Regions from separate parts of the Homo sapiens genome. Here regions 2, 3, 4 and 5 are each linked to region 1. Evidence: promoter capture Hi-C in human tissues and cell types (Jung and others, 2019). All regions are on one chromosome and are shown on one strand. The core of a region is centred on a gene start or on the middle of the fragment in contact, and the rest is flanking DNA. Distances in the headings are between cores, read along the strand shown. Region 1 holds the start of FAIM2 (Fas apoptotic inhibitory molecule 2). Region 2 overlaps CERS5 (ceramide synthase 5). Region 3 holds the start of COX14 (cytochrome c oxidase assembly factor COX14). Region 4 holds the start of SMARCD1 (SWI/SNF related BAF chromatin remodeling complex subunit D1). Region 5 overlaps TMBIM6 (transmembrane BAX inhibitor motif containing 6).

What was found. The method cuts DNA at HindIII sites, captures the fragments that hold promoters and counts their contacts. A contact is called where the count stands out against the background at its distance.
Region 2: a fragment that was not itself captured here is called in contact with the fragment with the promoter of FAIM2 in region 1 in 2 of the 25 tissues and cell types used here (dorsolateral prefrontal cortex and hippocampus).
Region 3: a contact is called between the fragment with the promoter of COX14 here and the fragment with the promoter of FAIM2 in region 1, in 1 of the 25 tissues and cell types used here (hippocampus).
Region 4: a contact is called between the fragment with the promoter of SMARCD1 here and the fragment with the promoter of FAIM2 in region 1, in 1 of the 25 tissues and cell types used here (adrenal gland).
Region 5: a contact is called between a fragment that was not itself captured here and the fragment with the promoter of FAIM2 in region 1, in 2 of the 25 tissues and cell types used here (adrenal gland and mesenchymal stem cells).

What each region holds. Positions count from the first base shown.
Region 1 is chr12:49,901,409-49,906,799 of GRCh38, reverse strand. FAIM2 (Fas apoptotic inhibitory molecule 2) reads left to right here and starts at 2,900. Exons shown (of 12, transcript NM_012306.4): 1 at 2,900-3,022. The coding sequence starts at 3,008. The HindIII fragment of the contact is 14,088 bases long and covers 1-5,391 here.
Region 2 is chr12:50,145,512-50,150,902 of GRCh38, reverse strand. All of the region lies in intron 1 of CERS5 (ceramide synthase 5), which reads left to right. All of the region lies in intron 1 of LOC124902931 (a long non-coding RNA gene), which reads right to left. Among named protein-coding and RNA genes, the nearest start is that of CERS5, 19 kb to the left of the region's middle. The HindIII fragment of the contact is 4,983 bases long and covers 306-5,288 here.
Region 3 is chr12:50,108,935-50,114,325 of GRCh38, reverse strand. COX14 (cytochrome c oxidase assembly factor COX14) reads right to left here and starts at 2,090. Exons shown (of 2, transcript NM_032901.4): 1 at 2,025-2,090. GPD1 (glycerol-3-phosphate dehydrogenase 1) reads right to left here. Exons shown (of 8, transcript NM_005276.4): 8 at 3,013-4,903. The coding sequence ends at 4,807. RefSeq lists enhancers at 1,761-1,810, 1,821-2,060, 2,281-2,540, 2,601-2,650. The HindIII fragment of the contact is 18,391 bases long and covers 1-4,381 here.
Region 4 is chr12:50,081,968-50,087,358 of GRCh38, reverse strand. SMARCD1 (SWI/SNF related BAF chromatin remodeling complex subunit D1) reads right to left here and starts at 2,017. Exons shown (of 13, transcript NM_003076.5): 1 at 1,813-2,017; 2 at 1,011-1,198; 3 at 696-738; 4 at 481-603. The coding sequence starts at 1,989. ASIC1 (acid sensing ion channel subunit 1) reads right to left here. Exons shown (of 12, transcript NM_001095.4): 12 at 3,748-5,391. RefSeq lists enhancers at 594-1,325, 2,175-2,434, 2,792-3,524 and a silencer at 1,665-2,104. The HindIII fragment of the contact is 20,407 bases long and covers 1-5,391 here.
Region 5 is chr12:49,746,476-49,751,866 of GRCh38, reverse strand. All of the region lies in intron 1 of TMBIM6 (transmembrane BAX inhibitor motif containing 6), which reads right to left. Among named protein-coding and RNA genes, the nearest start is that of TMBIM6, 7.6 kb to the right of the region's middle. The HindIII fragment of the contact is 5,733 bases long and covers 158-5,391 here.

The DNA of each region.
Region 1 (5,391 bases), core at 1,651-4,150:
GAGGCTGAGGCAGGAGGATGCTTGAGCCCAGAAATTCAGACTGTAACAAGCCATGATCATACCACTGCACTCCAGCTTAGGCAACACAGCGAGACCCTGTCTCAAAAAAAAGTTGGGGGGACATATACACAATGTCAAGGTAATAGAGTCCAACATCTGAGAAACATCATAGCACTGACAATGTCAACATGTCTGAGGAATATAAGGATTTTGTATAATGCTGTACTTTACTCAACCAAATACTTATCAACCCACCACATCCATGTCAGTCACTATTTTAACCCACAGGTGTAAAGCAATGACACAACACCCCCAAACTCCTCCTCTTCTGTAGCTGACGTTCTAATGGGAGAGAGAGAGAGAACAAAACAAAACAAAACAAAACATGTCAGAGGTGACAATTGACATAGAAAACATAAAGCTTAATCAGAAAAAAGGGACTGTCCAATTTGCTGGGTGGGGGTATGCGGGTGGCACTGCTACTTTGTATAAGATCAGGAAGACCACCCCTGAGATAATGTCTGAGCAGAGTAGTGAAGTTAGTGAGGGAGGGAGCCACGCAATGATCTGTAGAATTTCCAAACAAGACACAGCCAGTGCAAAGGGCCTCAGCTAAGCGCATGCTCAGCCCAGTCTAAGGAATGGCCAAGAGGCCTGTGTGGCTGGAGCAGAGTGAATGCGAGAGAAGGAACAGGAGTGATTCACAAACATGAAAGTGCTAAGGCTGATGAAAGTCAGGCTCTGCGTAGTGCCATGTCTGGGAAATATTACTAGCTACAATTGATGGAGTGCATTCCACACACCTGGCACTGCATTCAGTCCAGCTCACACCAAAACTGCTACAGGAGCTTAGAGTGTAACAGGGAGTCAGTCAAAGAAACTTCACAGCGCCACGTGACAGGCGTTACATCAGGGTGCTAGGGAACTACAGAAGAGGAGCATCTAACCCCAACTAGGGGGGGAAGGAGGCTTCCTGGAGGAGGTGGCATTCAAGCTGTCAAGCAGGAGAAGGAAAACACTTCCAGGATGCAGATGCAGAGAAGGAGGGAAGGCCAGAACCTGGACCAGCTGGTCAGAGCTCCAGGTGCAGTGCTGGGGACCAGGGCACAGCTTGCTGGAAGAAGAGCTCGGGTTTGTAGGGTTGAGAGAGCCTCTGGACACGGAGGCCCAGGCTTAAGTGTGTTTGTGCAAAATTGGTGGTTATGGAGTGGGGGACAAAGGGCAAAAAGGGGTGGGATAAAGACTTTGATAATTAGGCCAGGCACGGTGGCTCACACCTGTAATCCCAGCACTTTGGGAGGCTGAGGAGGGTGGATCACTTGAGGTCAGGAGTTGGAGACCAGCCTGGCCAACATGGTGAAACCCTGTCTCTACTAAAAATACAAAATTAGCCGGGCGTGGTGGTGCGCGCCTGTAATCCCAGCTACTCAGGAGGCTGAGGCAGGAGAATCACTTGAACCCGGAAGACAGAGGTTGCAGTGAGCCAAGATTGTGCCACTGCACTCCAGCCTGAGCAACAGAACAAGATTTTCTCTGTAAAAAAAAAAAAAAAAAAAAAAAAAAAGACTTTGATAATTTGTCTGCCTACCTGGGCCCTGCTTTCTCAGGGACTTTAGGTGGGTCCCTGGGCAGTGAGAGGGAAGCAGAAGGTAAGTGGCCACCCCCACCTGTCCCAGGTCTTAGTTTCTCGTCCCATCCTAGCAGGTTCAGATACTTCTTTTAGGCAGATTTGTGGGTGCTCGCTCTGGGGCAGCCCAGGACATTCTGGTAGGAGACTCCTCAGTTAATAATACCTCACATACTTCCAGCACTTCTTGGTCTTTTATGTGCTTTTACGGCCATAACCTGTGCGTCTGACAGTCAATCTAGGATGGACAGAGCTCTGTTCTAAGCCTCTTTTTCGTAGGAGCTGCAGCTCAGAGAGGTTAAGGGCCTTGCCAAGGCCACGCGGCCAGTGGGTGACTAAATTGGGACTTGATCCCAGCTCTTGAGATTGCAAACCCCATAGTGACACTGCAGCAGCTACAGAAAACGGGGCCTGATGATGGCTGGGTCCCAGTGACACGTCTGGGGAAGCGGGGAGAACGAGCTCTGGCATGGGAGGAATGGAAAAGGGGGGAAGATGGAGACGGGGTGATGGAAGCTAAGCGTGGAGGCAGGAAGAGAGCTCTGGCAGGGGTTGTAGAGGCTTTGAGACAGAACTAGCGGTGTCTCCAGAAAGACCCCGTGAAATGTCCCAGCAGGGCTGAAAGAAACAGAAGAGGTGTCCTCCCACCCCATGTCTCTGTGAACCAAGGCAGGGAGGGACCTACTGTGTGCATTTCACAGGCGAGAAAAAGGAGCAAGGATAGGTGGCTATTGGCTTGCCCCAGGCCCACAGGAGCGCAGGGCCCAGGGGCCCTGTTAGAAGCGGGCAGCACAGGCGAGACTTCCAGACCTTCCCCTCTACCAGGGATGATGAAATAGATGATGAGAGGGGAGGTGGAGATGGAGACAGAAATCAGGGCCGCATCCAAAGAGGGAGGAGGAAAAGGCAGAGGCGCAGCTGGAGCTGCAGAGAGGTGCAGAGACAGTGGAGATGAGGCCCTGATGCCCGGCTCTGGTTTCACGCGGGCAGCGTCAGCTGGTCGGTGTCACGGAGTTCCCGCGTCCTCCGCCCGCTCAGCCCCCGCGGACCCATCCACTGGGGTTGCTCCGCAGCGCGACTCTCTCTCATCCCGGGGGAGGGCTAAGGGCGGCGGTGGGGGGCGGGGTGGGGGGGAAGCGGCGGGAGGGGGCGGTGCGCCGCCGCCTTACCCCGGGCTCGCGAATCCGCAGCGTCCTCCGCAGCATCTTCCCAGGCCCGGCCCTCTCCTCCCCCCGCGCCGATGGTACGCGCCGGCTCGCCTGGCCCGGCTGCAGTGGATGTTGCTAGAACCCACGCGGAGGAAGGAAGAGACGCAGGCAGGCTGCGGTTACCCAAGCGGCCACCCGGGCCTCAGGGACCCCTTCCCCGAGAGACGGCACCATGACCCAGGGAAAGGTACCGGCATCTCCCCAGCCTGCACCATCCTCCATCCTCCGGCTCCCGGCTCCCTGTCATCCTCAGCAAGCCCTCTGGACCACGAAAGCATCCTCCCCTGGCCCTAGTTTGAAGGTCCTCCGTGGTCCTTGCTGAAGTCAGAGGACCGAAAGGCCGGTGTCAAGGAATGGACCGAGGCCTCTTCCTGCCCGCAGGCGCGCCTCTCCTCCCCTGTCACCCTGCCACCCCTGCTTTGGCATTACAGCATTACAAGGCTCCTCACAGATACCCAGGCCCCCCGTGAGGAGTCAGCCCGGGCGTCTGGTGTGACTGTATGTGTGTGCATGGGTATGTGTGTGCCAGGGTGAGCCCTGAGGGGCAGTGCCTATCGGGCAACCCCCTCTGGCCCAACCCTCCAGTCCCAAACCCAACCACTTTATGCTCATCTTTCCCACCCTCCACGGAAACAACCCCCACCCTACTCCCTGCCATTGTTCCACATCTGGGCGTCTTGGCTCCATCCCTGTGCTTGGGGCTTGCTATGACAACTCTGCATCAAGATGCTCTAATTGTTGTTTTGGTTTTGGCCAGGCATGGATGGGTCCGGATGAAGCATCTCTTCTCCAGTTTTAGGCCTGAATTGTAGGGGAGGGGCTGGGGCAGAGACTCGGCTGGCCTAGTAGGCTTATGTAACATCAATAGCCTGTGGAATTATACAACCACTAGGGCCTGGGGCTAAGGGGGAGGGTACTCGGGCCCTCTGTTTGGGTTGCTAAGGATTGGGCAGAGAAAACAGGGGAAGGACCTCCCCTACACTCCCCCTTCTTCTCTTTGAGAGGAGCTTCAGAGCCAATGACATCCTTCCCTGGACCCTCAGACCCTCCTCTCCCTGTATGCAAGCTCTTTGGGCCTCAAATGATGTCACTGGGTGATACCACCTCCCGCCATTGGTCACACCTCACTTGGGAGTGCCGTATGTGTGTCGGGGGCCTGGGCATTAGGGTCCAGGAGGCTCTGGGGGGCGGAGTGGCAGGGTGGAGGCTGAACTCGATTTAGGTGGACATGATCCTTCAGATCCGGGTGATGAGGGGGGCTGGGGAGTGGGAGGCAGTGGGAGGCCTGGGGAGTGTTCAGTTCCGTAAACATGGAGAACTCACCCCTTCTGCTGAGTCTCCTTCCACCTCCACCCTGCCTCCACCAGGCCCTTTAGTGGCGCTGTTCCCTTCCTGGTGTGAGGGGGACCTCTGCCTCCTCTGCCCCTTGTCCCCAGCTCACGCACAGGCTTGCTGGGGGATGGAGAAGACCGCTCCAGTTCAGTGGTCCTTGGGCCTGGATGGAACCAGAAGTCTTCTGGTGCGTGCCTGTCTCCAGGCTGCCTCAGCCAGATGCTCCCTGCAAAGAAGGAAGTCCGCAGTCTTCCTCAGTGGCCCTTTAGGTCTAACACAGTCTTCTGGGAACCAGACCTAAATCCCATTTTCTGAGAGCCGGGCTTTTTGTTGCTGTTTCAATTTCACACCACCCCCTCCACCCCAGTCTTTCCTTCTCTGGCTGCCTCATTCAGGCCTTCCCAGCTCAAATCCTCTCACCAAAGCTAAACATGTCCACGGGTGGGGGGCAGGGGACACATCTGAGTGTAAATGGACTCGCATTTCCAACCTGCCATGGGGACGTTTCCCTTTGAGCCTCAGTTTCCTCATCTGTTCAGTGACGGAAGAGACTCAACTGGATGTCTTCTGAGGCCCCTTCCACTGGGTCACTCTGTGAGTCTGTTCTGGTTTAGGGGAGAGGCTGAGATTCCTACAGGATGAGGCCAGAACAGACCCTTAGCCTGGATCCTCTTGCCCTTCCTCCACCCTGAAGGCCCTTCTTCTTTTCTGTTTTCTCCCTCTCCTCTTCCCTTTCTGTTGCCCTTCTCTCTCCCATCTCCATTCTCCTTGCATCACTTCCAGCGCAACAGAAGGATCAATCCCAGTGGATGATGCCTAGGCCCTGCCTCTCAGTGGGCCACATGCAGCTCTGTGACCTTGGATGAATCGCTCTTCCTCTGTGATCCTCATTCTCCTCATTTTAAAGCAGGGGTCAAAATGCAGCTAGCAAGTCTCAGGAAGATTAAATGACATAACCTTTTATTTGTAACAATCTACTATGTGCCAGGCTCTTTTCTGGAACCATAGAGACCCTGCCCCTACCCCAGGGACAATGACAGTGACAACCAATGGTGGACACTCCTAAGAATTTTCTCTTTCCTCTGTTCCTATCCCAGCTCCACCATGTGCCCCAGCTAGCTCTGACCCCTCTGGAGCTTAGTTCTCTTGTCTATAAAATAGAGACATTCTTGTCTGCATTCCTGGCTTCCAAGTGCAGGTAAGGAAGGAACCATGAAAGTTCCA
Region 2 (5,391 bases), core at 1,548-4,047, 240 kb before region 1:
CCATTTTCTTCTTAGCCTAAATGCTTGAGGGTTTGGCTATTTCTACTTCTTTCCTCCTATATCTTTAACTGCTTTAACTCACTGCTGTGTTTTAGAGTCTTTATTTTACTGGAATTTCTTTGGTGAAGGTTACTACAGATCTCCAAAAATTGCCAAATGTAGTAGATACTGAAGTCCTTGTCTTGGTCTTTCCCTTATTTGATACAACTCCACCTCTGACCTTCCTGTCCCCTAAATTCACCTTTTATGCTGATGTTGTCCAGCGTTCTGACCTCAGTTCTCTTTTAAGTTTATATTCCTTTCATATGTAATCACAGCCACCCCCACAAATTTAGCTATCACTTACATTCTCATTCATTTGTATTCGTATATTCTGTTCTTTCTCTCTATATATATATCATACCCAAGCCCCTTTTCCAAGTGTATTTGCATGCTAGACAGTTCCATTTCAGTGTCCCATGGGTACTTCAGATTCAGCATACACAAAACTCAACTCATCTTTCACTCCCAAACTTTTTTTTATTTCATTATTTTATGTTTTGGAGATGGCGTCTCACTCTGTCACCCAGGCTGGAGTGTAGTGGCACAATCAGGGCTCACTGCAGCCTCCACCTCCTGGGCTCAAGCAGTCCTCCTGCCTCAGCCTCCGCAGTAGCTGGGACCATGGGCACATGCCACCACATCCAGCTAATTTTTAAAATTTTTTGTAGAGACGGGGTCTCACCATGTTGCCCAGACTGGTCTTAAACTCCTGTTCTTTTTATATGTCTACTTTGGCACTTTATATTTTTCCAGAAATTGATCTAAGCTGGTACTTCTCAATCTGGAAATATTGCTGCACACATAAAAAATAACATTTGTGGCTGAGTATGCTGGCTCACGCCTGTAATCCCAGCACTTTGGGAGGCGAGGCAGGCAGATCACTTGAGGTCAGGAGCTCAAGACCAGCCTGGCCAATGTGGTGAAACCCCGTCTCTACTAAAAATACAAAAATTAGCTGGGCATGGTGGTGCACGCCTGTAGTCCCAGCTACTACTTGGGAGGCTGAGGCACAAGAATTACTTGAACCTGGGAGGCGGAGGTTGCAGTGAGCCCAGATCACGCCACCACACTTCACTTCAGCCTAGGCATCAGAGCGAGACTCTGTCTCTAAATAAATACATAAATAACATTTGCATTATACAGTAAGGTATATGAGGCCAGAGACTACAGACTAAAGGTTTCTGGCTACCCGAAGGCCCCATGGATCACCCTGAGAGCTAAAATCAATATCTCAGCATAAGTATAGCCCATTTGTGTTACTTGCCACAATAGTTGAGAAGCTTAATCTAGACTTTGGTTTTATTTGTGTATAATTCATATTCATCAGTGGTGTAATGAATCACAAAAGTAGCATTGTGAATATACATCCTGTCTTTGATAGGAAAAAGCGAAAGCACTAGGTAATTTCATCCTAATTAACCCAGGCTTAGGTCAACTGCTGCTATGTATCTGGAGAGCAGGAAAAGGGCAGAGTGAAATGATCTCTACAAAGCAGGACAAATCTAATACTGTCAGGATGGGTCACTAGACTCGTGTTCCTGGAGTTACAGGTGGAAAGTAGTAGCTTCTTTTTATAGACCACTAAATGCCTACTTACTAAAATCTGCCAGGAAAGGAAAAATCTTGTCTGACAAATTATTTTAAAATGTGGATTGATCCTGGAGAAGACAGAAAGCCACACTAAAAGTATAATTTGTCAGTATCATCTAGCACAGCAGTTTTCAAACTATGATCTCAGGACTCCTTTACAATCTTAAAAAATTTTCAAGGATCCCAAAGAGTTTTTGTTTATGTGGATAGTACCTATCAATGTCTACTGTTTTAGAAAAAAAATGGGGAAAATGTACATGTTTTCTACATGTATTTATACATGTATAAAATGTCTACACGCACACACACACACACACACACACATATATATATATATATATATTTTTTTTTTTTTTTTTTTTTTTTGAGATGGAGTCTCGCTCCGTCACCCCAACTGGAGTGCAGTAGCGCAATCTTGGCTCACTGCAACCTTCGCTTCCCGGGTTCAAGCAATTCTCCTGCCTTAGCCACCTGAGTAGTTGGGAATACAGGTGTGCACGACCATGCCCGGCTAATTTTTTGTTGTTGTATTTTTAGTAGAAGATGGCATTTCGCCATGTTGGCCAGGCTGGTTTCAAACTCCTGACCTCAAGTGATCAGCCTGCCTCAACCTCCCAAAGTGCCGGTATTACAAGTCTGAGTCACCACGCCCGGCCTATTTATTTATTTATTATTGAGACAGAGTCTGCTTTGTCGCCCAGACTGGAGTGCAGTGGTGAGATCTCAGCTCACTGCAACCTCTGTCTCCCGAGTTCAAGAGATCCTCTCACCTCAGCCTCCTGAGCAGCTGGGACTACAGGTATGTGCCGCCATGCCTGGCTAATTTTTGTATTTTTTGGTAGAGATGGGGTTTCACCATGTTGGCCAGCCTGGTCTTGAACTCCTGAGCTCAAGCAGTCTGCCCACCTCAGACTCCCGAAGTGCTGGGATTACAGGCATGAGCCACCGCATACAGCCTATTTATTTTTGAGACAGGATCTGGCTCTATCACACAGGCTGAAGTGCAGTGGCGCAATCACAGCCCACTGCAGCCTCGACCTCCCAGGCTCAAGTGATCCTCCCACCTCAACCTCCCAAGTTGCTGGGACCACAGGCATGAGCTACCACACCTGTCTAACTTTTGTGTTTTGGGGAGAGACAGGGTTTCACCACGTTTCCCAGGCTGGTCTCAAACTCCTGGGCTCAAGTGATCCACCTGTCTCAGTCTCCCAAAGTGCTAGGATAACAGGCATTAGCCACCGTGCCCAGCCCATATTTATTCATTTAAAAATAGCAATGGCCTGGGAAACATGGTGAAACCCTGTCTCTACAAAAAAAAAAATTTTTTAATTAGCTGGGCATGGCCAACACCTGTAGTCCCAGCTACTTGAGAGGCTGAGGTGGGAGGATCACTTGAGCTTAGGAAGTCAAGGCTGCAGTGAGCAGTGATCACACCACTGCACTCCAGCCTGGGTGGCAGAGTGAGACCCTGTCTCAATATAAATAAATAACAATGAACTCATTACGTTTTATGAAAAATAACTATTTTCCAAAACAAAAAACTGTGAGAAGAGTAGCATTTTAACATTTTTGAAAATATCTGGCAGCTGTAGTCTCATGTCAGCGTCTGCATTCAGTCTGTTGTTATATGTCATGTAACTTATGGAAAGTTCCACTGTACTCTCATGAGAGAGAATAGATTTTTATGAAATTATAGAATTATTCTGAAGATAGTTTTGACCTTGTAGACCTACTGAAAGGGTCTCTGGATCCCCCAGGGGTCTCTAAACCACACTTTGAGAAATGCTGATGTAGCAGAAATGATGAATGCCAGGCTCTGGAAATTGACCACCCTAGGTACCTATTTTTTTTTTTTTTTTTTTTGGAGATGGAGTCTCGCTCTGTTACCCAGGCCAGAGAGAGTGCAATGGCGTGATCTCAGCTCATTGTAATTTCCGCCTCCTGGGTAAAAGCAATTCTCCTGCTTCAGCCTCCTGAGTAGCTGGGGTTACAGGCACACACCACCACGCCTGTCTAACTTTTTGTATTTTTAGTAGAGATGGGGTTTCACCATGTTGGATAGGCTGGTCTCGAACTCCTGACCTCGTGATCCGCCCGCCTCAGCCTCCCAAAGTGCTGGGATTACAGGCATGAGCCACCGCGCCTGGCCTAGATACCTGTTTTATAAGTTATACCAAATACCAACCTTTTGTATGATGTAGAATTAATACTTTCTCAAAAGCTATAATTTCAAATAATTTCACTTTCTTCAGTAAGGTAATTCATTAACTGTGTATAACTAAATCTATATATTTAATTTTTATCACAAATTAGAAAAGATTATTTTCCAATCACATCTGGAAAATATAATAAAGCTTCATTCTGTAGCACAAAATAAACAATCAACAAGTATTTGTCAAATGTTCTTTTTTTTTTTTTTTTTTTGAGACGGAGTCTCACTTTGTCGCCCAGGCTGGAGTGCAGTGGCGCGATCTCGGCTCACTGCAAGCTCCGCCTCCCGGGTTCATGCCATTCTCCCGCCTCAGTCTCCCGAGTAGCTGGGATTACAGGCGCCCGCCACCACGCCCGGCTAATTTTTTGTATTTTTAGTAGAGACGGGGTTTCACCGTGGTCTCGATCTCCTGACCTCGTGATCCGCCCACCTCGGCCTCCCAAAGTGCTGGGATTACAAGCGTGAGCCACTGCGCCCGGCTGTCAAATGTTCTTACGCTCCATATAGCTGGAACTGACTGGATATGAGTAGCTTTATGCTTTTCACCGAACTCTGAACTAACGAGGGCAGGATGTGAGCTAATGACAATTCTAGATTGTTAAGTCCACTCCATGATCCAGATAATAGTAATTTTAAAATTGGCTTCACCGAGGTGAGCAGAATATAGACCTGTTATATCAAAGAGTATTTCTTGCTTCTCACTTTCTGCTGGAGGTACCAGAGAGTACCCAGACTGAAATATGTTTCTAGTGAAATAATAATAGCTACTCTTTAATGAATGTTTGCTAAGTGTCAGGTATTGGTGTAGGCATACATTGTTTCATTTTATCTTTAAAATAACCCTGTGAGGTAGATATTATCTCCATTCTATGGGTATGTAACAGTCACAAGGTCTTTCAGCTGGTAAAATCTGTCTAACTGCAGATCTGAGTTTTAATCAGCTGACTGCCTCTGGATTAAAGAAGCCTGGGTTAGGGGTAAGAGTAGGAATTGGAAAGGCTGTTTTCTGCCTTTGGATTTTCATGCAATTATGTCGATAGGAGAAAGGAGGAGACAGGGTTTTTAGATGATTTTTATCTCTGATATGGCATCAACTCAACAACAAAGAATGACGGCCTCATTTACTCTTCTGAATGCTGATTAATTTTGGGTCAGAATTGACCTCCAATACAACAAGAGTGGGTTTCACTAAAACATGTTGCTTGTCAGTTACTGAGCAACTGCTGAGCATAGTACCTTGGTAAATATAAAAGCAGTCTATTTGTGTTTACAAGGAGTTTAAACATGAGTTGGGGGTTAAATATTATTGGTATACAGAATAGTATACCAGTAAATGTAAATTAAGGTATCCACTGGCATTGGCCTTTGAATGGAACTATTTTTTTTTTCCCCCCCACCGGTGTAAAAGAGAATGTGTTACAGATGTGGCTAAATTTATGCTCTGAATAAATATTACTCTATGGCTCAGGAACTTTGGTGATAAGGTAAAAAGTTTTCATAGAGGGAGATAAAGTTTCTTATTCTCAATCCCTCCTTTAGAGATAATA
Region 3 (5,391 bases), core at 841-3,340, 210 kb before region 1:
GTGAGCTGAGATCGCGCCACTGCACTCCAGCCTGGGCAACGAGTGAAACTCCACCCCTCAAAAAAAAAAAAATTCCAGAAACACCTGTTTTTTTTTTTTTTTTTTTCATTTAACTACATCCCCCTTCCTGGTTGAAAACCACTGCTGAATCAAGTCACTGCCACTGATGGAGGTGTACTGTATCTTTCCAGTGTGTTAGGCTAGAATAAAAATTGAGAACCATAGCTGGGTGTGGTGACATGCACCTGCAGTCCCAGCTACTAGGGAGGTTTGGGTGGGAGGCTTGCCTGAGCCAACGAGTTTGGGGCTGCAGTGAGCTGTGATCACGGCCCTGCACTTGCAGAGCAAGACTGTGTCTCTAAAAATAATAATAATAATGATAATAAAGAAAAAAAAAAGGCTGGGCGTGAGCCACCTGTAATCTCAGTACTTTGGGAGGCAGAAGTGGGCTGATAACCTGAGGTCAGGAGTTCGAGACCATCTTGGCCAATATGATAAAACCCTGTCTTGACTAAAAATACAAAAATTAGCCAGGCATGGTGGCACATGCCTGTAATCCCAGCTACTCAGGAGGCTGAGACAGGAGAATCATTTGAACCCGGGAGGCGGAGGTTGCAGTGAGCCGAGATCGCGCCACTGTACTCCAGCCTGGGCGACAGGGCGAGACTCCGTCTCAAAAAAATAAATAAAATAACAAACAAATAAATAAATAAATAAAATAACGGCCGGGTACAGTGGCTCACGCCTGTAATCCCAGCACTTTGGGAGGCCGAGGCGGGTGGATCACGAGGTCAGGATATCGAGACCATCCTGGCTAACACAGTGAAACCCCATCTCTACTAAAAACACAAAAAATTAGCCGGGCGTGGTGGCGGGCACCTGTAGTCCCAGCTACTCTGGAGGCTGAGGCAGGAGAATGGCATGAACCCGGAAGGCGGAGCTTGTAGTGAGCCGAGATCCCGCCACGGGACCCCAGCCTGGGCGACAGAGCAAGACTCCGTCTCAAAAAAAAAAAAAAAAAATTGCGTAAACGTATGGGTAGAAGTGCGATTTTGTTACATGCATACACTGCATAGTGGTCAACTCAGGGCTTTTAAGGTATCCATCATCTTTTATCTACTTTTTGTTTGGCACTTAGAGAGTAGTACATCGGCCGGGTACGGTGGCTCACGCCGGTAATCCCAACACTTTGGGAGGCCGAGGCGGGAGGATGGCTTGAGCTCAGGAGTTGGAGACCAGGTTGGGCAACATAGGGAGACCTTTTCTCTATTTAAAAACAACAACAACAACAACAAAAAAAAAACCTTTTTTTAAAAATTACCCGGGCGTGGTGGCGCACACCTGCAGCCTGAGCGACAAAGCAAGACCCTGTCTCAAAATAACATAACATAACATAACATAACATAACATAACATAACGTACATCATGCTACGGAGGCCGCTAAAAAGAACATGGCTTCTGTCATACAGGAGCTTATGGTCTCATGGAGAGGCACTGTGAGAGTTCAGAGACAACAGCTCAAAGACAGGGTGGGGGCTTGAGAAAACTTAGCAGAAAGGTGTAGGGGTGGGAATCGGGGTGGGAGTGGAACTGTCTTTTTAGAAGGATGGCCTGGAGAAGAGGAGCAGTGAGAGCATTCCAGGAAGTGAAAGCGGTCAAGAGGTGGAGCTGGATAGCCGATATGCACGAAGGGTGCCCCGGAGAGCCACTTATCAGGACGCAGAGGTCTATAGAGCAAGGAAGAGGCAGAGTTGGAGCGTGGAGGGTCGAGACGCCAGGCAGGAGTCGAGGTTTGACAGGATTAGCGCTGAGCTCTAGCAAGACTGACCTACTGCTGCGAGGAGCTTGGGCTTGGGCAGGAAGCAGTGCAGCTCGCGGTCCGCAACGCAACAGAAGCGGGTGAATTCAAGGGCACCAGGCCTGCAGACTAGGGGATGGGAGGACGCGGCAAGCGGAGACTGGCCCAGGTGGGCGCGCAGGCAGTGGGACTGGCAGCCCCTGCTCGGCCCTAGCCGGCAGCGTACCTGGATGCTGCAGCTCCTTCGCATCCAACCGAGGCCTCCTCAGGCAGGCAGGGTCTCGAGGCCACTGTCTACGCAACTTCCCAGCACAGCCGAACGCAGCACTCGGAACCAGACACGTGAGGGTAGCGTCCCTGGACAACCCTGAACGCCTCAGCTATTGGTGCAGAAAGCAACTTTCTCCCTCCCACCTGCCGGGTTAGCCTCTAGGATTCGGCTTGCCGCGCTATAAAGGGAACTGCGCATCAGACGCGGCACAACTCCGCCCACTAAGGCGGGAGTCCGCGCAGGCCGTCACTCTGGCTGGAGGCCGGCTTTGAACTTCCGGCTTCCGGGCCCGTTATCCTTACTACGCATCCTCAGACGCGCCGTGCTCTCGGAGAGGCCCGCTGAATTCTGGGGGCTGTGGTTTCTCTCCCTCGAGGGAGGGTCTTTGGCGAGCCAAGCTCTGGAACCGGAAGTTTTAGGATGCTAAATCAGAGTCAGCCAATCCTCAGCCTACGGTGCGGTGACGTCGCCAGTAGCTGGGTAGATTTTCGCAGCCGGCCTTCTGGAGGTGGATCGCGCGCCCCCTAGAGCCCGGCTGTGGGCCTAGTCCAGGTAGGGGCCCGAGGGGCACCGCGATGCCTGGACCGCTAAGGATGCGGCAGCTTGGCCCGTGACCAAGGAATGGGCACAAGGGATGAGAGTCTAACGTTTCCGTCCCGTGTGTGATCTCTATTCTTGCAGGAGGCATGATAAAGCCCCTAAGAAGGGCCGGCAAGGCCGGGGCCAGCTTGCGGCGAGGGCGGGAGGGGGCGCTGGCGGGAGGGGAGAGAGAGGGATGGGGACTGAGTGGGCACCGCCGCTGACCCCTGGAGTAGCTGCGATTATGGAGGAGGGATTTCTTTTTTCATTTTTCCTACGGTAAGAGGGAAAACATACGTGCAATGATACGCGCCAGCACACGCACTGCCACATGCACTGAAGCTCCCTCTCCCAACTCTTCTTGTTTCTGGAAAAAACACGCTTTATTGGGTAGACAAATAGGCCTGATGGGAAGGCCTGAGTCACAGTGCACTGGGGAGTGAACAAAAGTAGGCAAAGTGCTTGAAGCTTCCCCTTTGCCCCCACCTTAACCTCCTGGGGAGGCAGCTCTGGACACTCAGTACCCAGACCTGGGCTCAGCAAGGCCTGGGGTGACTGTGCCCCTCACTCCTGCTGCCTGATCTGGGCAGCCCCACCCTTCACTGGTAAGACAGAATTCTCAAGGGATAGGCGCAGAGAGGAGCCCGCCTCCCTGGTTCATTGGAGAGTAACAGGGTTTTAGCATAATGCTGGCCAGAGCCAGTGTGCCAGGTGCTGCCACACAGGAAGCTGACAGCCCTGCTGGACGGGCGGGAGCCTCTCGGGCCCTCCGGACTATTTATAGCTGGAGGCCTAGGCTGCTGACCTGTGACATTCCTCTGCTGCCACCCCATCCTGGAGCAAGGCAAGTGCAGAGCACACTCCTCCTCCTCCCCTCCTGTTCTTTCCTCACCCCAGGGAGTAGGGTGGTTTTGATTTTCTTCCTCCTCCTTGAGTTTCCCAGCTCTCGAGTTGCTGGTGTTGTCAGTACCTCACGAGAAGGCCCTCATTCAGCAAAGAGAGCTGCCCTTGGAATATTGGTGCCCACCAACATAGGAATCTGCTCACCCTTCCCTACCGTTCATCAGCCTTTGGGCCACCCTCTGGCCTGCTGGCTTCCAGATGCCAGGCATGGTTAGCTGGTTACCCTGGCCGGTCTGGAGCAGCTGAGGAAGAGGTGCAGAGTTTGGGAGGAAGAAAGGGGTGGAGTCAGGGATGTCCTCTGGGGAGATAGCACAGGAGGGGCCCAGCTGACACCTCCCCCAGCTAGAGCTACTGAGAAGGAAGCCTGGGTGAATACAAAGGTCACAGGGAGCTGAGTGATCTGAGCCTGTTATGAAAGGTGTAGCTCTGTCAGCAGATTAAGTTCCTGCTCCCCAAAGAGGGTGCTGGCGGGGAGGGTGAGGGAAGGCTTGGAAAGGTCGCACAGAGTGGGGAGGAGCTGGCAAAGAACTAGGAACCGGGAAGTCCCTGGGGAGAATGTCAAGCCACCGAGCTACAGATGCCAGCATGGCAGCAATTTGGGTGCCAGGGCAGCCTGGGGGAGGGGGAAGGGGGAGAACCAGAGGTTTCTGAGGACACAGATGTTGCTAGGAGAAGCTAAAAGGGGTTTGTTTGAGATCTTTGTATTTTGTTAACAAACACTGAGATCCATCGAAGCTGTGTGGGTCCTGGCAGAGGTCAGCAAAGGGGTCCTTGGGGCCTGCATCAGCTCAGAAGCCCAGACCCCTCCCTGACAATCCTTGCCTCATCGCTCCTGTGGCTAAGATACTTCTTCAGCCCTTTAACAGGATTACTGGTGTATGTGAGACAGCCACTAGCAGCCCCTGCCCTACCGGCCTCTCCCCCAACCCTTCTCCACATACATCACCCCCGCCACCAAGCAGGCAGCACTGGGGCTTGATTCCACCCCTCCCAGAGGATATGGAGAAAGCCCCACATCTGGAGAGGGACAGGGCAACTGCATTTCTGGCAAATGTGGTGGCATGAGGCTGCCAGTGGCTTGACAGTTCAGGATCTCCAGGTGCGTAGCTGGGCCCCATAGCCTCCTGTCCTCCAGTGAAAAGATGAGAAGACTCTGCTCCCTGGGAGTCCTGGAGATCCTGGTGACTAGGTACCCCAGGCTTCTGCTGGTCTCCACTGGGGTAAAAAAGCGGCCTGGCCTGGGCCCTGGCCCCACTCACATATGTTCTGGATGATTCTGCAGGCAGTGGATGAATTCACCCACTGGCTGGCCCTCGTAGCACACCTTGTACACAGCCATGAACAAGGGAAACCTAGATTGGAGAGGGAAAGGCTCAGCTTAGCCTCCCACTCCTGGTCCACTCTACCCCCACCCCCACTCACTGCCTAACCCTCCTGTCCCTTGCCCTCCCACCTTGGAGCTCAGGAAGGATGGCTGTGAGTTTCTACCTTCTGAGAATGTGAACTCCCTAGCCCTAGGTTTAAGGTCAGATTGCTAATTGCCCTGCTCCCTACCATGTTGAACTGGCCTGCATGATTCTCTGGCTTGGATTTTCTGTGCCAACTGGGCAACCCACTTTTTTTTTTTTTTTTTTTTTTTTGAGACAGACTCTCGCTCTGTCGCCTAGGCTGGAGCGCAGTGGTGCAATCTTGGCTCACTGCAACCTCCGCCTCCCAGGTTCAAGCGATTCTCCTGCATCAGCCTCCTGAGTAGCTGGGATTACAGGCACACACCACCATGCCTGACTAATTTTTGTATTTTTAGTAGAGATGGGGTTTCACCATGTTGGTCAGGCTGAGC
Region 4 (5,391 bases), core at 768-3,267, 180 kb before region 1:
GGAAGGCAGAAACAGGATTGATCGTGGGGCTTCAGTGGTCTGATGTTGAAGACAACGGTCTCCCCAAACCCCAAAATTACTCCTAACAGACTGGCTTACTGTCTACCCAGTCCCTTGGGTGGGTGGATGAAGATTCCATTTAGAAGAGGAGTACTGGCCATCAGCCTAAGTACAAGTGCATATAGTGGGATGCCAGGTGGACAAAGTCATGCAAGGTGCCAGGTTCCCAAGGTAGCAGAGCAGTTACAGCGAAAACATGGACAAGGGTATATTTGTAGTGCAAGAGACATCAAGAGCCCCTCCCCCTTTGCCATTCTGTTCTTATCCTCCTAATGTAATTCTCAGTTTGTAGGCGGAAGGGAGAGATGCAATTTAAATGCCAAGGAGAGTTGTGCTGTGCCTTTGATTTCTCATCCTAATTCTGCTGAAGGTTCCTGGGTCCTCTCCTTTGGCTCTCTGCCTAGTACTTTCCTGTGTTACCTTGATGGGACGTTTCAAGGCCTCTTGGATATCTAGCCGTTTCCTCATGATAGTCTGGTCCAGTTTCCTTTCAAAAGCCAAGAGATCCATATAGGCCTGGGATTCTGGTACCAGTTCACGAATCTTAGGAACAGAAAAATTAATTGAAATCTAGGATGATCATCTCTATACTCAAACTCACCACACTTTCCAGAAGACATATAGCCTGGACTCACCCTTTGAGGTAGAATTTTGTCAGCCATCTTCTTTTTCTTTGCACTGTTGGGAATAAATACTATTATCAGGTTGGGACAGAACTAGTCAGAACGTGAAAATAAGCTGTCAGCACGTCCATTTATAGTAATGTGAAGGGACTGCAAAGCTTCTCTCAAAGAACTACCACCACCACCACCACCACCAAGCATTCTCAAGGATGAGTTCTGTAGCACCATCTGCTGACACAGCACCACCACTTCTTGGTTCAGGTACTCCCACCACCTGTGTCCTCCCAGGCTCCCTCCCTCCCTCCCTCTGCCCCAGGATCATCTTACTTGTGGTTTCGATTTTGGACCGCCTGCTGCTGGACCTGCTGGATCTGCTGAGGGGCAGGTCTCTTGCGGGACTGATCCATCCCTGACTGGGCCAGGCCAGGTCGGACTGAAGGGTTCCCCCCATAGCCAGGGGGTCCCATGGAAGGTCCCTGAGGTGTCATTCGGCTGCCTGGCAACATACCTGGTCTCTACAGAGGGGAGAGGACCCAGAGATGTCATGGTTTCACCTGCTAAACCCCATCAAGAAAGAAAAGCAGGGAACGCCTGAGATCTTTGAATGAAGTAAGGTTTAGGGATGGAATGGAGGACAATGAGAGGAGAACCCTTTGCTCCAGTAGTGACTCCATAGAAAAACAGAGTCCAAAAGCTAAGCGAGAGCCAGATTATACTCAAATTCTCAGTCTATTTTGGATGGGACACATCGGACATCGCCAGTTCCACATTTACTCTGCTAGCTACTATCTCTTTAGAAGCTGACCTCAATTTGTCAGCTACACGTTCTGTGTTCCTCTGATCACTGGAGCTGCTCAAGCCCCTTTGCACTCCGGCCCTCATACAGGTATCCCTGGACCCACTTCACCCACCCAGGTTCTCTACCGACTCCCCAGGGAAACAATGCCCCTAGGAGCAGGTGTGTAACTGCCTCCCCCTCTCTTTCTGCGCACTGCCTCCCCCAACCCCCACCCAGAGCCCGAACCCCTCCCAAGGGAGTCCCTCCTACTTCTCCCCCCACCCCTGTCACTCCCATGTCCCCGCTCGGCCCCGCCCCCGGCCCGCGCGCCCCTCCTCCTGCCCCACTCACCGGATAGGCCGCTCCGGGCATCGGGGAGCGGTACAGCCCTTGACCCGGAGCCGGGCCCATTCGCACAGGAGGCCCCGGAGTTCCGCCCGGGCCCAAGGCAGCAGCCGCGCCCGCCCCTCCTGAGGCTCCGGCGCCGCCGCTTGGAGCCACAGACTGGAAACCCGCCCGGGCCGCCATCTTCCCGGAGCCGCCGATGCAGCCGCACAAAGAACCGGAACCGGAACTCCCCCCGCCCCCCGAGCGCCCCCCGAGCGCCCGCCTGTTCCCCCGGCCGGCCGGCCGGCACGGGAGGCTCAGGGCAGCGAGACTATGGGATAGAGCGGGGCGACTAGCGGAAAAGGCGTGCTGGCCACGCCCTCCCGCCTTCACGGTCCGGGAGGGAAAACCATAGAGAAGAGCTCTGCAATAGAGAGGCCGCGTGAGCGGGCGCCCCCAGGCCGACGGGAGGAAGACAAGGACCTGGAAAGGGGGACGGACCACAGCCTCAGCCCCAGTCTCAACCCCAACTCGAGCCCTCTGATGAAGAGGGGCTTGGAGTAATAGCTTCATCTTGGCGCATGGCGTTAACTTTCCAAAACGCTTTGACTGCTTTTCGTTTCGTTTTCTTACTGCTATAACTATCAGGGGCTGAGGAGGGAAACACAGTTTATTCCATTTTACAAATGGGAAAGCTGAACTCACAGGTGAATGACTTGGCAAAGGTCAACCAGCAAGTTAGCCATAAAGCCGAAGCCAAGATTCCAGATACCCTTGCTCATAGCCCGGGACTCATTCCACAGATAAAGTGCCTCAATAAGTACCTCACGTGGGAACTTCATCCTAACTTTCTCTCTGACCTAACCTGCTTCCGGATTATTATTTTTTATTTTTTATTTTTTTTTAGATGAGGTCTGTCTCTCTCTCGCCCAAGCTGGAGTGCAGTGGCACCATCTCAGCTCACTGCAACCTCCGCCTCCCAGGCTCAAGTGATCCTCCCAACTCAGCCTACCAAGTAGCTGGGACCACAGGCATGCACCACCATGCCAGACTGTTTTGTATTTTTGGTAGGGATGGGGTTTCGCCATGTTGCCCAGGTTGGTCTCGAACTCCTGAGCTCAAGCGATCTGTGCTCCTCAGCCTCCCAAAATGCTGGGATTACAGGTGTGAGCCATTGTGCCTGGCCTCAGATTTTTTTTTTTTTAAATATTAAAAAATAGGGATGGGGGGCTGGGCACGGTGGCTCATGCCTGTAATCCCAGCACTTGGGAGGCCCAGGCGGGTGGATCATGAGGTCAGGAGATCGAGACCATCCTGGCTAACACGGTGAAACCCCGTCTCTACTAAAAACACAAAAAAATTAGCCGGGCGTGGTGGCGGGCGCCTGTAGTCCCAGCTACTCGGGAGGCTGAGGCAGGGGAATGGTGTGAACCCGGGAGGCGGAGCTTGCAGTGAGCCGAGATCGCGCCACTGCACTCCAGCCTGGGCGACAGAGCGAGACTCCATCTCAAAAAAGAAAAAAAAAATAGGGATGGGGGTTTCACTATGTTGCATAGGCTGATCTCGAACTCCTGGCCGCAAGTGATCCACCTGTCTCAGCCTCCCAAAGTGTTGGGATTACGGGCATGAGCCACCGTGCCAGCCTGCTTCCAGATTTTATGATAAGTTCCAGTTTATCTTGAATTTTGACTCTGCTCTCTCTCTCTAAAGCATCCTTTGTATTGGGGATTCTGTTTTGGAACTTTGTTGCCTTTGACTTCTCCCTCTTTCCCTGCCCAGTGGTTCAAACTATTCCTGATATAATGGTCAGCCTGTCCCATCCCAGGGGGACCACAGTGTCCCTACTCAAACCTTCTCCTTACTCATCCCCTAATTGGCCCCAAACCAAGCTCAGCTTTAGGCACTTAGTGAGAATATCTAAATACTTTTTCAAATAAGAGAACAACACTGAAGAGGAGATGGTTGAAACCCAGTTTATTAGACCAGAGGCATGCGTCACCCAGAGCCCTGCCTGCTGTTCCCCTATCCAATGCACACTTTTTGGCCTCATTCCTGCTTCCCTCTGGGGAGGTATGATCTCTGAGGAAACTCTTAGGAACCAAGAGATTCCAAAGATCCTACAGCCTTACTCTCCAGCTCCAGGCCAATGCAGCTGCTCACAGGTCCTGTTCTGGGATTGAAGACCAAGACACAGCTAGGGAAGGAAGGCCTGAAGAGGGGTTGGGGCTCAGGCCTGGAAGGAGTGTCTGGTGGAGGGAGGGGGGGCAGGCCCTCCACCTCACTTGTCTCTCATTAAGATAGGGTGAGACAACAGCAGAGCTTTCAACTCCTCCTCTAGGCCTCTCTTTCCTCCCAAACCCACCTCACCAGAAAATAAAAGTGGTGGGCTTGGGTATCAGGTGAGGAAAGGGGGCTGGGCACCCAGAAGGAGGAAAGGCCACTGACTGAGGACCTCAGCTTCTGCCTGTCAGCATCCCACTGCCCCAACTTCAGGAGTCGCCAATCCCCAGCTCCCTTCTGTCTCTGACACACTTGGCTTAGTGTCCAGGGTAGACCTCCATCCCCTGGGTGGGGGCTATCTCTACAGCAACCCCTTCCCTGGGGATGCCACTGTCAGCTGGGCAGAGGGCAATGGGATAGGAGGAGCAGGGGAAGAGAATGTTAAGGCTGCAGGGAGGGCCGAGGGTGCCCGGGTTGGGGGAGAGGGTGAGGCCAGAAAGAGGCAGAGCTTGTGATTCACAGCTTCCTTTGTCGCCACTGAGACAGTGCAAAGGTTACAATGCGCGTGTCGTCTCCTTGTGCTTCTCAGAGGGATGTGTGTACACAGTACAGACACCAGGGGAGAGAGTCCAACTCTTTATACAGGCGAAGGCATTCAGAGACCAGGGAGGGAGTAGAAACATAGAAGGTGGAACTTGGGGTGGGAGAATGGTTCTCAGAGACAAGAGGGGATGGGGTGGAGACAGACAGGGCTGGGAAAGTATATACAGAGATATAGCAATATAGAGTCTGTATCATATAGAAATAGAAAATGCAGATGAGGTTGTTGAGAGAAGCAAATGAAGTTGGGGAAGAGGATGTGGGAGAGTTCCATAAGAAAATTTATGGACGTGGCCCTCTACAAGGGCCTCCGGGAGAGGGACCAGTGAGGTTAGGCACTAGCGCCCTTCTCCCTGAGCTGGACGCTAACCAGCCCGGTCTTTAATGGGATGGTGAGGAAGGGCTGCCTCTTGGGATTTCTCTCCAGCAGCTGTGGGGTGGGGGTGAACTTATAGGTATCAGGATGTAGCCTACAGCACCAGGGCCGCATCTTGTCCCCATTACCACTTCTTAAGGGGATCCCCGACCCCCACGAGATTCCACATGGTGTGAGAGAGTGGGGCTGAGGTTTTAGTTCCTGCCAGGAGACTTGGGTTTGGGGACAGTCACTGGGCTGAGAGGGTCTCTTAAGGCTGGGGAAGCCTCCCTCCCCCACACTAGCCCTCCCCCTTAAGGTACATTCTCTGGTTTGGGGCCAAATTCCAGACCCCAGAGATCCCTTCCACCCCTCACTGGGAAGGGCCTTTGGTGACTGGTGGCAGCAGAATGTAGATGGACACTCAG
Region 5 (5,391 bases), core at 1,775-4,274, 160 kb after region 1:
TGCTTGAACCTGGGAGGCAGAGGCTGCAGTGAGCCAAGACACGCCACTGCACTCCAGCCTGGGCAACAGGGCAAGAGTCCATCTCAAAAAAAAAAAAAAAAAAAAAAATTATCTCACTAGCAGCACCTCAAAGATAAAAAACAAAACTTTGACTAGTCTTAACAAAACAAACAAAAACTATAAAGCTGGGTCTGGCATTAAGACTTGCATTTTAAATATATGCGTATCAAATTTTCTTAACCTAACACATTTAAGAACTGAACTGAAAAGGACTCACAATTTTAAAAAAAGAGAGGTTCCTACCTCCATAAAAAAGGAATTTATGCAGAAAGGAGGATTTTTTGGGGGGTATTTTTTTGACAGTTTCAGAACCTTTCCTACAGAAAGGTTAGAACAGTACAAAGAATTCCTGTACAACCTTCACCCAGATTTCCTAAATGCTAATATTTCACATTTGCTTCATCTTCTTTCTATATAGCAATATATAGACAGATGTAAAAATATTTTTTCCCTAACCATACAGACACAGTGCTCCTAAACACTTCAGTGTGTATATCCTGAAAGCAATGATCAAAATCAGGATATTAATACTAATGCAATACTATTTCTAATCTGCAGACCTTATTCAGATTTTTGCCAACTGTCCCAATGTCAAAAAGGGCATTTTTAAACTGAACTATATCCAGGTTAGATCATATCAACACCATAAAGTCAAGTTCTTAAGTTTTGCTCCCTCCCCTATTTCACATGCAATCCTAAGTAAACGTGTTCAATCTACAGTACTAAAGATCCAGTCAAGAACTTTCATCTCTTCTAAATATAAATCCTCCAAACTCCTATCAGGGCCATAATGCCCATCCATTTTAAATCTACCAGAAAAGGAGGGGCAGGGAGGAAGGGATTCAAACATAAAGTTGTGTGAAACGCCACCTACTGAATGAAGCACTCTAATCAGCACCCAGCCCAACACTCAGAACAATTCATCTAGGTAATAATAAAAGTTACAGTCCCCAAACAAATTTCCTAAGGAATCCTGGGCCAGTGGAAAGATATAAACATCATCTGCTTCCTGAGGCTCTCTCCCACAAATGAAACAATCACAATGGCTGGCTTGCTTTCTCTGGTTTCTTCTTTCCTTCTCTCATTAACATCACTACTCACCTCAGAACTTTTGTTAATTCTGTTCTTAAGGACAGATACAGTGAGAAGCTGCAGAACCTACTAAGGTTGTTGCTCTCTCCTCTGAGTCACACGGATCTGGGCCCTCTTGATCTAGATGGTGCAATTATTGCAGGTTGTTACAAGGCCAACCACAGCCTTCCATAACCAAGATGAATATGACTATGTCCTCTAGAGAGCACACTTACAGCATGGCAGAATTCAGCACCTGGAAAGTGTCTTTGTTTAAGGTTTCCCATTAACACCCCTAATGACATCCCTAGACAGCACTTACAATAATACTGAAGCAACTTTCAGAGCCAAGTTTCTCAGTATTCACAACAGCAATGCTAAAGAACCTCTTGCTTCCAATTACAAGAATTAAAGAAAGGTAAGGGATGGAGCGGGGTGGATCCTCAAACGCCCAGGGGATTCTAAGAAAGAGGCAATGCTCATGTAACCAGACCCTGCTTGGCGGAATCTGTTCGAGGGGAGAATGGCAGAAACTCCCCTTTCTCAGATACTTCTCTGACGTTTCCCAGGGGGTACTGACTGCCTCTTTCTGGTTCTCTCTTAACAACTGTTGATGGAAAAACCAAAACCATCAAAGGCTGTGTGGGTTGGGGCAGGGGGATGAGATGTCAAACGGCAATTTCACTTTGATTTAATAGAAGCTTGTGGTTTGAAATCATTAAAAAATAACTAAAACTTCTGTTTTTCAATATCAGTATTTCAAAATTTAAAACAAAACATGTAACTACCAAATATTATAGACGCAAAAGGGCACAGCAATTTTATTAGCTTTATGGAGAAAAAAAAGAAACCTGGTAAAGCAGATGGTCCCTGACTTACCAGGGTTGACCTATCACTGGGAGAAATTGATACTCATTCGGTACACTCCTTGATTTGCGATGGCTTACATCTGGATACACCCATTGTAAATTAAAAATATCGTTGACTCAAAAATGACTTACAGGTTGGGCACAGTGGCTCACGCCTGTAATCCCAGTACTTTGGGAGGCCGAGGCAGGTGGATCACTTTGACGTCAGGAGTTCGAGACCAGTCTGGCCAACACGGCGAAACCCTGTCTCTACAAAAAATACAAAAATTATCTGGGCATAGAGGCACGCCCCTGTAGTCCCAGCTACTTGGGAGGCTGAGGCAGGAGAATCACTTGAATCCAGGAGGTGGAGGTTGCAGTAAGCCGAGATCACACCACTGTACTCCAGCTTGGGCAACACAGCGAGACTCCGTTTCAAAAAAAAACAAAAATGACTTACAAAAAGAAAAGGACTTACATTTTCAACTTACGGTATTTTCAACTTATGATGGGGTTTTCCAGATGCAGCCCCGTCTTGAGGAGCATCTGTATACATTTAATGTATATGACACAATGTACAGATGACAATTTCAGAAATGTTAAAATGTGAGAGGGAATACATAGGTCTTAGAATCAAAGAAATATGATAGTTTGCTCTAGAGCTGTTCCAAATAGACAAGAATATACAGATAAGTAATGAGATCAAACTGTTCTGACAAGTTTTGCCAGATAAAATAAACTTACCAAGTTTCAATCTTAGCTTCAACTAGCGAAGCTCAGAAAAGATACCTACATTTCAATGGCCGATATGCAAACTCAGCCAAACAAGATTAAGTTGCACTTAACTCAAAAATAGCAGCTCTCATATCAAGTATTTTCCATTCTAGGAGCAATCAGCTCTTAAGAGCTTGAAGTATTATATTCAGTACCATTAACCAAGTAACTCGCTAACATTCCAGAGGAGCCCACAGTTAAATGAAAATCTTTGTTTTAAAAAAACACATTAAAATGTTATAGTTTACCACAATAAAGAAAAAAAGTACATTACAAGCTGCTAAAAAATTCAATACAGCAGTCCTTTCACACCTCTAAGCCTATTACTTACTAATTCAATTCTAAAATAAAGAGGAGGGGTTATTTACATAGAATACAATGTGGATAGTGCCTCCTGGAGTTGTGGAAAATCTGCCTATACTGCGTTTGTAACTGAAAAGTAAATGTTCAGGTGTTAATCATAACCAAATTCCTCTAATTTCATTCAGAGCCTCCTGTTATGCCTTCATCCCAGGAGAGGAAAACCTGTCAGAAGCTGTCAACATGTCATGCACATACTGCTAAAGTTTTGCTGAAGTGTCATCATTCTGTGGTATCCCTGACCAGCCTCCTCTGCCAGAGCCATGCAAAAACAAAAAGCTAAGAGCTTAATACATAGCTCTCCCAAGAAAAAACTCAAGTAAACACAATTGTTTGAGTTAGATATTCCTGTGGTCTGCTTTTGCTTGGGAAGACAGGGACAGCAGGGGCTGGTAGGAGGAGACAGGCATTCTTAGCAGTGGACATCTAGGTCATGTTAAATGCCTTGTTTTGTTCTAGGTATCTCCCTTACCCTTGTCCTAAAATGAAAGACTATTATCAAGGGTCCAGCCTTAAATTAAAAACAAAACAAAACAAAACAAAAAAAAAACAGGCTGGGTGCGGTGGCTCACGCCTGTAATCCCAGCACTTTGGGAGGCAAAGGCAAGCAGATCATGAGGTCAGGAGTTGGAGACCAGCCTGGCCAACATGGTGAAACCCTGTCTCTACTAAAAATACAAAAATTAGCTGGGCGTGATGGCGGGCACCTATAGTCCCAGCTACTCAGGAGGCTGAGGCAGGAGAATCGCTTGAGCCAGGGAAGCGGAGGTTGCAGTGAACTGAGATCACGCCATTGCCCTCCACCATGGGTGACAGTGCGAGACTACGTGTAAAAAAAATTTAAAAATTAAAAAAAACACAACCATTCTCTTCAGTCCTATTCCCACACACCTAGGAGCTACAGTGAACATGAAACATGCTGAAGTAGCCAAAAGCTATGCAAAACAAAACTATCGTGGATTTAGTATGCGTTCTATGCAATGCTGGAGCCAAGACAGACTTTGCCTCAGTGTGTACAGCAACATTAAAACAGCAAGTCAAAGAAACACTGTTCGCACATTTAATTAAATATCAGTTTATGTTTTATTATGAAGACAATAAAGTCTCAAGGTTATGTTCACTTCCAAAAAACAAAAAAGGAAAAAGGCCATGCACAATGTCTCACACCTGTGAGCCCAGCACTTTGGGAAGCCAAGGTGGGAGGGTCGCTTGAGCCCAGGAGTTCCAGACCAACCTGGGCAACACAGCAAAACCTCATCTCTGCAAACAATTAAAAAATTAGCTGGGTGTGGTGGTGTGCGCCTGTTGTCCCAACTACTTGGGAGGCTGAGGAAGGAGAATTGCTTGAGCCCAGGAATTTCAGGCTGCAGTGAGCCATCATCATGTTGCTTCACTCCAGCCTGGTAACAGAGCAAAAATGTGTCACTGCACCCCAGCCTGGGCAACACAGCAAAACCGTTTTATAAAATTAAAACAAAAAAATTAGTTTGTCAATTACATGGTTCTTTCTTCCTGTTGTATAAATTCAACCATCCTGAACCTTGTTCCCACATATCTAGAAGGGACCAAATTGATACTTAGAAGAAAAATCCCATATAGTTTAAAAGAGGGGAAAGGGCTGGGCACGGTGGCTCATGCCTGTAATCCCAGCACTTTGGGATGCCTAAGTGGGTGGATCACCTGAGGTCACGAGATCGAGACCAACCTGGCCAACATGGTGACACCCAGTCTCTAGTAAAAAAATACAAAAATCAGCCAGATGTGGTGGTGGGCGCCTGTAATCCCAGCTACTCAGGAGGCTAGGGAAGGAAAATCGTTTGAACCCAGGAGGCAGAGTTTGCAGTGAGCCGAGATTGCGCTACTGCACTCCAGCCTGGGTGACAGAGCCAGACTCTGTCTCAAAAAAACAAAAACAAAAAAAGGAGGGGGAAGAACTGTTAGTAATTTGTCAGTAGTTTTTTTTCTTCTTCTTCTTCTTCTTCTGTGTTTTTGGCCAAGAAAGCTTTCCATTCATTAGTTTTTACTACTGAGTAATGTTCATACACTGTATAACCATGTCCCCTGCATAGTGGTTAAGACTGCCTGCTACTTCTGAATCCTAGTTATTTCCTTAGCAGTGGGACATGCAGCAAGCTGCTGGCACTTAACCTCACTGTACTTCAGTTTCACCTACCATGTGTAAAATACTAGTACATAACAATCCTTATTTCCTAAGGTTGCAGATTAGGTGAGATAATACAAATAAAGTTCTTAAAATAGCTCTTTGTACATAGAATGA